Regions from separate parts of the Homo sapiens genome. Here region 1 is linked to region 2. Evidence: promoter capture Hi-C in human tissues and cell types (Jung and others, 2019). All regions are on one chromosome and are shown on one strand. The core of a region is centred on a gene start or on the middle of the fragment in contact, and the rest is flanking DNA. Distances in the headings are between cores, read along the strand shown.

Region 1 (3,322 bases), core at 394-2,893, 180 kb before region 2:
ATAATAAAAAGACAGATGACCAAATTTTAAAATGGATAAATATTTGAATAGATATTTCTCCAAAGCAGATATATGAATGGCCAATAAGCACATAAAAAATGCTTAACATCATTAGTCATTAGGGATATGGAAACCAAAACCACAATATCCATTCACATCCACTAGGATGGTTATAATAAAAAAGAAAATAACAAGTGTTGGAGAGGATATGGAGACATTGTAACCCAATGTATTGTGAATGGGAATGGAAAATGGTACAGCCATTTTGGAAGACAATTTTTCTGTTCATCAAAAAGTTATTAAAGTTACTATAAGATCCAACAATTCCACTCCTAGGTATATACCCAAGAGAAAGTAAAACATGTATCTACACAAAAACTTCTATGTAACTGTTCACAGTAGCATTATTTATAATATCTCAAAGTGGAAACAACCCACATTTCTATCAGTTGATGAATGGATAAACAAAATGTAGTGTATTTATGCAATGGAATATTATTCAGGTGAATTTTATAGTAGGTGAATTATATCTCAATTTAAAATTATGAGGAAAAAAGCAGAAGTGGCTACTTTAATTAATCTGATAAAGTAGACACCATTGTTCATAGCATTATTTACAGTAGACAAAAACTGGAAAAAATCAAAATGTCTCAATATATGAATGGTTAAACAAACTGATACATTTATACCATGGAATACTATTCAGCACTAAAAAGGAATTCATGCATGGCTTTCACATTAAGCTGAGTGAAAAAAATACAATCCCAAAAGGTAATGTGCTGTATGATTTCTTTTTATAACATTCTCAAAATTATAGAGATGGAAAACAAATTAGTGGTTTTCAGGGATTAGGGGTTGGGGGATGAGGGGACTAAGTGTGATTCTAAAGGGATAGCATGAAGGAGATCTTTGTGGTGACAGAATAGTCTATATCTAGATTGTGGTTGTGGTCAGATAAATCTATATATGTGATAAAATGGCATAGAACTATATACATATATTGGTCCAATTTCAATTTCCTGGGTTTGATGTACTGTGGTTCAATAAGATGTAAATATTGGGGGAAACTGGGTGAAGAGAACCTGGGACCTCAGTAATAACTTTGGAACTTCCTGTAAACCTATAATTATTTTAAAATAAAATGTGTAAACAAGACACATTTGAAAACAGATACATGAGTATAGAAATTTCCTCACAAATGTTCATAAACTATGCTACTTTGAATCTATTATTTGAAGGTAGAACAGGAAATGGAAAAAATAATACAATGTTATAAAAAGAATTATCATTAAGAAAAATATTAGATCAATTTTGATATTAAAATTTATTTAAACGTATCCACATGAATAAGTGGCTTATGTTACTTATGTCTTTTAAATTAATACATATTCTGTTTTCTTAAGTAAGGTATAAGCTAGTTATTTTGTAGATTTACTGGATTTAAAATTGTAAACACAAGACGGCACTAACTAAAAGTAAGAAAAAAACTTGTTTTTTAAAAAAATTGTGAGCTTTGCTGCATATGATTAAAACAAAATTGAACAAGCCATTTATCAAGTGAATAATTGTTTAACTGTGCAGTTAATGAATCTCGAGTTTACATGAAAGCTGAATTGTGTTCAGCTTCAATAATTTAGTTTTAATAACTGGTTCTGTCTTCACTAATTGAAACATTTAAGCTTTACTGCACTTTCTAATCATGACAAATTTTCAAAGAGGTACACAGGAAAAGAGATATAGTGAAATCAGGTTAGAAATAATTGGTAATAGTAAAATGTTAACATTTTCTGTGATTTACAGTTTTCCAAACTAACAAATAACTTTGAAAAACTGAGATTACATCAGATGAAACAAAACAAAGTTCCACGAAAAGAATTACCACACCTTAAAGAAGAAATACCCTTTGAACTGAGCAATTTGAACCAGAAATTAGAGGTGAGATATATTATCTTAGTTTCTTCATGTGTATTAAAGATTGATTCCTATTGTTGTGGGCTATTTGTCTCTAGTGTCCACAATGGTGTCTTCAGTTGTGGTAATAAACACTATTACAAACTAACTTCTCACTGAATATATTTTCTTAGTGCACCTTCCCCTCAGGCACTTAGTGAATTAAAACATCACTTTGATGTATACATCTTTTGCATATATCAGCATTTTGGGAGATTAAAAAAAAAAGAGCCAAAAAAGTCAAAAGAAACTGCAGCTGTTGAGTAAAATTGAAGGACACCCCTGGGGTCAGTTAAAGTGAATATCTAATAAATCTTTTAATGGCCATTTAGCTATTAGGTAGTTAAATCCCAATGAAGCCTCATCACAGTTTTTAAAACAGGGCTTGAAGTTTCATGGTTTTTTTTCTTTAAAGGCATAATGTCACTCCAATTCAATTGCCCCAAAGCATTCAGAATTTCTAAAATTTTGGTCTCTAAAAAAAATTCACTATGTCCTCATAACTATATATATCTACTATGTACCCACAAAAATTAAAAACAAAAAACTTTAAAAATACACTGTGTCGTTGATGCACTTATTCTTATCTTCTTCGTTTTCCAACCTTGGAAAAAACAAACCAGCTATTTTTCTTCCCTGTGTTCTTGAGCATTCCTCCTACAAGTCATGGAACAGCAGAAAGATTACACTATAAATTCCTATCATCTACTTTTACCTGGATTCTCAGTACTGCCCAATTATTATTTTTTAATTGACTTCAAGTTGACCCTTATGTTATCCCACTTAATTTCTTTCATTTTTCTCAAGCCCTAAACCCCAGCATCCCTCCCCTTGCCAGCACTTTTTCATCTTTAATTAAAAAGTCCTTCTACTTTAAAATATCTTAAAGAGCAGAAAAAAATTAAATCCGGGATCACAGCCCTAAAATCGGCTTATTATAAGATCTTTGTAGGAAGTCCTAGATTTTAATCTTTAAAAGTCCAGCACATTTTACATGCTTCTGAATAATACATAGTTTTTTAAAAAAACAAACTTACCATCACTAAGTAAGTTGGCCCTCTAGGAAAATGCACTGTGTTGTACTCCCAGGCTCTTGCAGTGGTACAACCAGACGGGCTTCAGAAATATCCTGACCTCATGGAAGATGCCGATAGATGTGCACTGTAATATACATGTGCTTTCACTGAAAATGAAGAGATTGAGTCACTAATATTCCATTCGACTGACTTTTCATGGGCTTTTGTGGGAGAACTACATTAATAAAAATTTTTCAGACAAAAAAAGCCTTAAGTTAGTATCAAGTACTTTGTGTATGCACATTTTACATTTAGGAAACTAAATATTTACGTTATATATATGTAATGAAATTATA
Region 2 (3,709 bases), core at 509-3,008:
AAGCACAATGAGCAACTTTATAGTAGATAGCTGGACAACCAAGTACACTAACTGCAAGCATAAGAACAGTATTCATGTTGTAAATCGAGTACCAACTACTATTAGTTTTTTGTTGTTTTGCTTTTTGCAATATTTCTTCTCATATTTTATTTTAAATCTAAGCTAATTTCTTTATAAGAACAGGCTAAGGCTTATTTTCTGTGGCTGATCCAGCCTTACAAGAAAAAAGATTTCACTGTGTCCCTCAGAAACCTACTCCTGTCTACATCACACTGTCGAGCTCTCTCTTTATACCCCATGTGACAGATAAGAAAACAGAAGTCCAGAGAGAGCAAGTGACTCATCCAAGGTCAAACTTCTTGCTAACACATCTAGGACGAGAATAAGGGCTCAAGAAGCCCACTATGGGTCTCTTGCCGTATCACTGCTGCAAATGACCAGGCATACTGGTGTCTTGAATACAAAGTTTATTTGTAAAGGGGAAAAAAAAAAAGCCAACATGAGTCATCTGCATTGTCAACGGGCTCCACACAGGTTGTTCTAATAAAGCATCCAGCACCTCCAGAACCACTTGTTTCTGAAAGCACCAACCTACGCAGACACTAGCAGGCCATGTCTTCCACCCTTGCCACCCTCGAGGCTGTGAGCAGATGCGCTGTTGGGCTCTGGGGATCTAGAGGTGTCACTTAAAGAGCAAGGGAGCCTGGAGCTTGGCAGTACTGACTGGATGAGTGGATGGGTGGGTGTATGAGGACATGGGAGTGTTTTCTGACAGCTCCCGGAGATAGTTATGATATCATGCAGCCTAATCCCACTCATCTTGGAACACCCCAAACATCTCATCCGCTCAGCTGTCCCTCCTCAACTTCCTCAGGGCAAAAGCACTGCAGTCTGAGGTGAATCTGGCCGCTGGGGAGGGGCGGTAGTCGGCCCCAGCAGCAGAGGAAGCAACGCTCAGCTCCCTCCTCCACCCACCCCGTACAGGAACTCCCCACTGGGTCTTCAGATGCCAGAGGCGTACCCAGCTCGGAGCCTGCCCCGGGTCTCAGGGTCGGTCCCGAAAGAACGGGGGAGGAGGAAGGCTCTATCCCGCCCCCGCCTCACCTCTACTCCCCGACCCCCAGGCGCCGACCCTTCTCACCCGCAAGGTCCGCCGCCGGACTCTTGTCCACTCCCAGAGACCCTGAGCGCACCCCTTTCTCGGCGTCCTCAAAGGACCCGCGTTTCCCACCTTCCCATACGGGGCCCTCCCGGCCGCCCCGGCCCAAGCCCTTTGCACTGCGTCCCCCGGCCCCTGAGTCCGCCCCGCACCCGCACTTCCCGCCCGGCCCCGCGGGCTCGCGGTCCGCCCCAACTTTTCCCAGCCCCCGCCCCGCAGCAACCGGGATGCAGCGTCTCGAGCCGCGACGGGCAGGCGAGCTCGAGTCCCTCGGGCCCCCAACCCCGCCCGCACGAGTTGCGCTCGGGACCCGCCGGGCGCCCAGGCCTGGGTCAGCAGCACTGCGCGGAGGCGGAGCCGGCGTGGCGGGAACCGTACTGTCCCGGCGCCGCACCCCCGCCCGGTGCCCGGTGCCCCGTGCCCCGCGCCCGCCCGCCGGCTCGCCCGCCCCGCCGCCGCCGCCGCCGCGCCGCTCCCAGCCCACCTGCCCGCGGGCGCCGCCGCCGCCGCCGCCACCACTGCCGGGAATACGTGGCAGTGGCCGCCGCCGCTTGCGCTCCCCGCCTCGCCTCTCCTCTCGGCGCCCGCGCGGGCGACTCTGGCGCGCCAGACCGCAGCGCCAGGCGCCCTCTGCCGCCGGGAAGCCGAATCCTCCCGTCCTAACCCTAACTCGCTGGCTGCCCCCGCCCGGGCCTCGGCTCCCGCCCCCTCTTCCCCGTTCCCGGCTCAGACTGTCGCTTCCGAGCGACCTGGGTTCTCGCCCGGCCTGCTGCTGCCGCTGCCTCCAGGAAGTTCGCCCTGACCACCTCTGCAGGCTCAGCGCGCTTCCTCCGGCTCCCGCGCAGCGGGTGCTTAAGTCACCCCCTTGTTGATATATTTCCTGCTTCTTTGAACGCCTCGCCCGTGAGATAGCAGAATCGGAAAGGGGATAGTTGGAGGCAAACGCCATGTCTGTTGTGTTCACCATTCTCTCCTCCAGGGCAAGGTTAGCGCCCTGTCTGGAATACTGAAGTGCGCAATAAATACTTGTGAAGAGAGCAAACGAGTAGATGAATGAGTTGAGACTTTTACCGCTGTCTACCCAAGTAGGCTTTGAAACCTCAAGCGGACAGAGATCCTGACCTGGATTTGTTTTTTGTAACTTACACGTGCATATGTGTGCGCAGCTCAGCATAAATAAATGAGATTCACAATTCCCCACCTCGGACCAGCGCCAAATCCGCAAGAGGCCCACGGCTAAATGTTATTCAGGGCTTTTGGTCAAACACGTTTAGGTTTGAGATCTACCTCTTAAAAGCTGGGCAATCGCGGGAAAGCTCATCTCCCTGGCCCACAGTGAACACGTCTATAAATTAAGAATAATAAAACCTACTTCACAGAGTTGTGAGAATTAATTGAGATGGTGCACTATAAAGTTCTTTACGCAGCCCCGATGTGTGCGGTGGTATGTAAATGGTAGTTATTGTTGTATTACTACTGATGCAGTAGGTGATTTTAAAAACTATCTTCGAAATGTAAAATATTGACTACCTTTTCACCTTAAAACCTTTATATGTGTGGTATTGTCACCTGCTCAGCAAGGCCAGCCCGGGGAGCAAGGCCACTCCTGTAACCTCTTCCCCTCCACCGGTAAAAATATAACAAGTCTTGGGGTTTTTTTGTTCTGTTTTGAAGAATTGTGGAACCCACTCTTCTGCAGGTTTTCCACCTGGATTTCTGTGGCCAATCTCTTAATTAACAAGTTTTTATTTTAGGGATGTCAAAGACAGGGAGCCCTTTGAAAGCACCTGCAGTCTACTGGCTCTTCCTGTTTTCTTCCTGACCCTCTCTCAAACAACTTAAGGCTTTTTTTTTCATTTTTACAGGAAGTGTCCTTCCTGCTGCGTACAAAAGGCAGCAATGCAGTAGAGTGGGATCAGAGGGGATTGGGCTGCATACACCTTGGGCTTTCTGCACCTCAGTCCCCTCAACGGTAAACTGTGGAGAATAAGACCTTGTCACATTGGGAGATCATTCATGATCCGGTCTGTGAAGGAAATAAGGAAATACCTGAAACACAAAGATATTTAATAAAAGGCAACTATTGATCAGTTTATTTAGCATGTATTTAAGGAGCATCTTTTTAGTGTTCTATGCGCTGAAAGAATGAGGGGAACACGCGTGTGTGAGGTAAGTTTCCTACCTTCAAAGGAGTTTGAGCTGTAGCTCCACACTAGGGCAGAGGGATTGGGAGCATATGGGATGCAGCTAAATATGAAATTAGCAAGCCTCAAGGTTTAAATTGGGGCAGTGGTACTGCCGTGTGAATTGCTTTAATTCATTATCATTGTAAATGCCATTTTCCTCTAAATATTATGTACACAACTTCCCAAGGCCACTGCTAAAAATTAATGAATAATTTTATGAGGCAAGCAGAGCCACTGATGTAGGACTCAGTCCCTTAATAAGGTGACTCCACATGCTCCCTTATAGTAGTAATAACATAGATATTGTGTCTGTGAAAGTGCCATCCTTGGCTGGGCGTGGTGGCTTACCCCTGTAATCCCTGCA

Evidence for each region. The method cuts DNA at HindIII sites, captures the fragments that hold promoters and counts their contacts. A contact is called where the count stands out against the background at its distance.
Region 1: a fragment that was not itself captured here is called in contact with the fragment with the promoter of SMCO4 in region 2 in 1 of the 25 tissues and cell types used here (H1 embryonic stem cells).

What each region holds. Positions count from the first base shown.
Region 1 is chr11:93,362,360-93,365,681 of GRCh38, forward strand. DEUP1 (deuterosome assembly protein 1) reads left to right here. Exons shown (of 14, transcript NM_181645.4): 5 at 1,801-1,935. Among named protein-coding and RNA genes, the nearest start is that of DEUP1, 33 kb to the left of the region's middle. The HindIII fragment of the contact is 3,388 bases long and covers 1-3,322 here.
Region 2 is chr11:93,541,633-93,545,341 of GRCh38, forward strand. It overlaps SMCO4 (single-pass membrane protein with coiled-coil domains 4), which reads right to left and starts at 1,759. Exons shown (of 3, transcript NM_020179.3): 1 at 1,644-1,759. RefSeq lists silencers at 1,250-1,489, 1,620-1,669, 1,830-1,959. The HindIII fragment of the contact is 9,629 bases long and covers 1-3,709 here.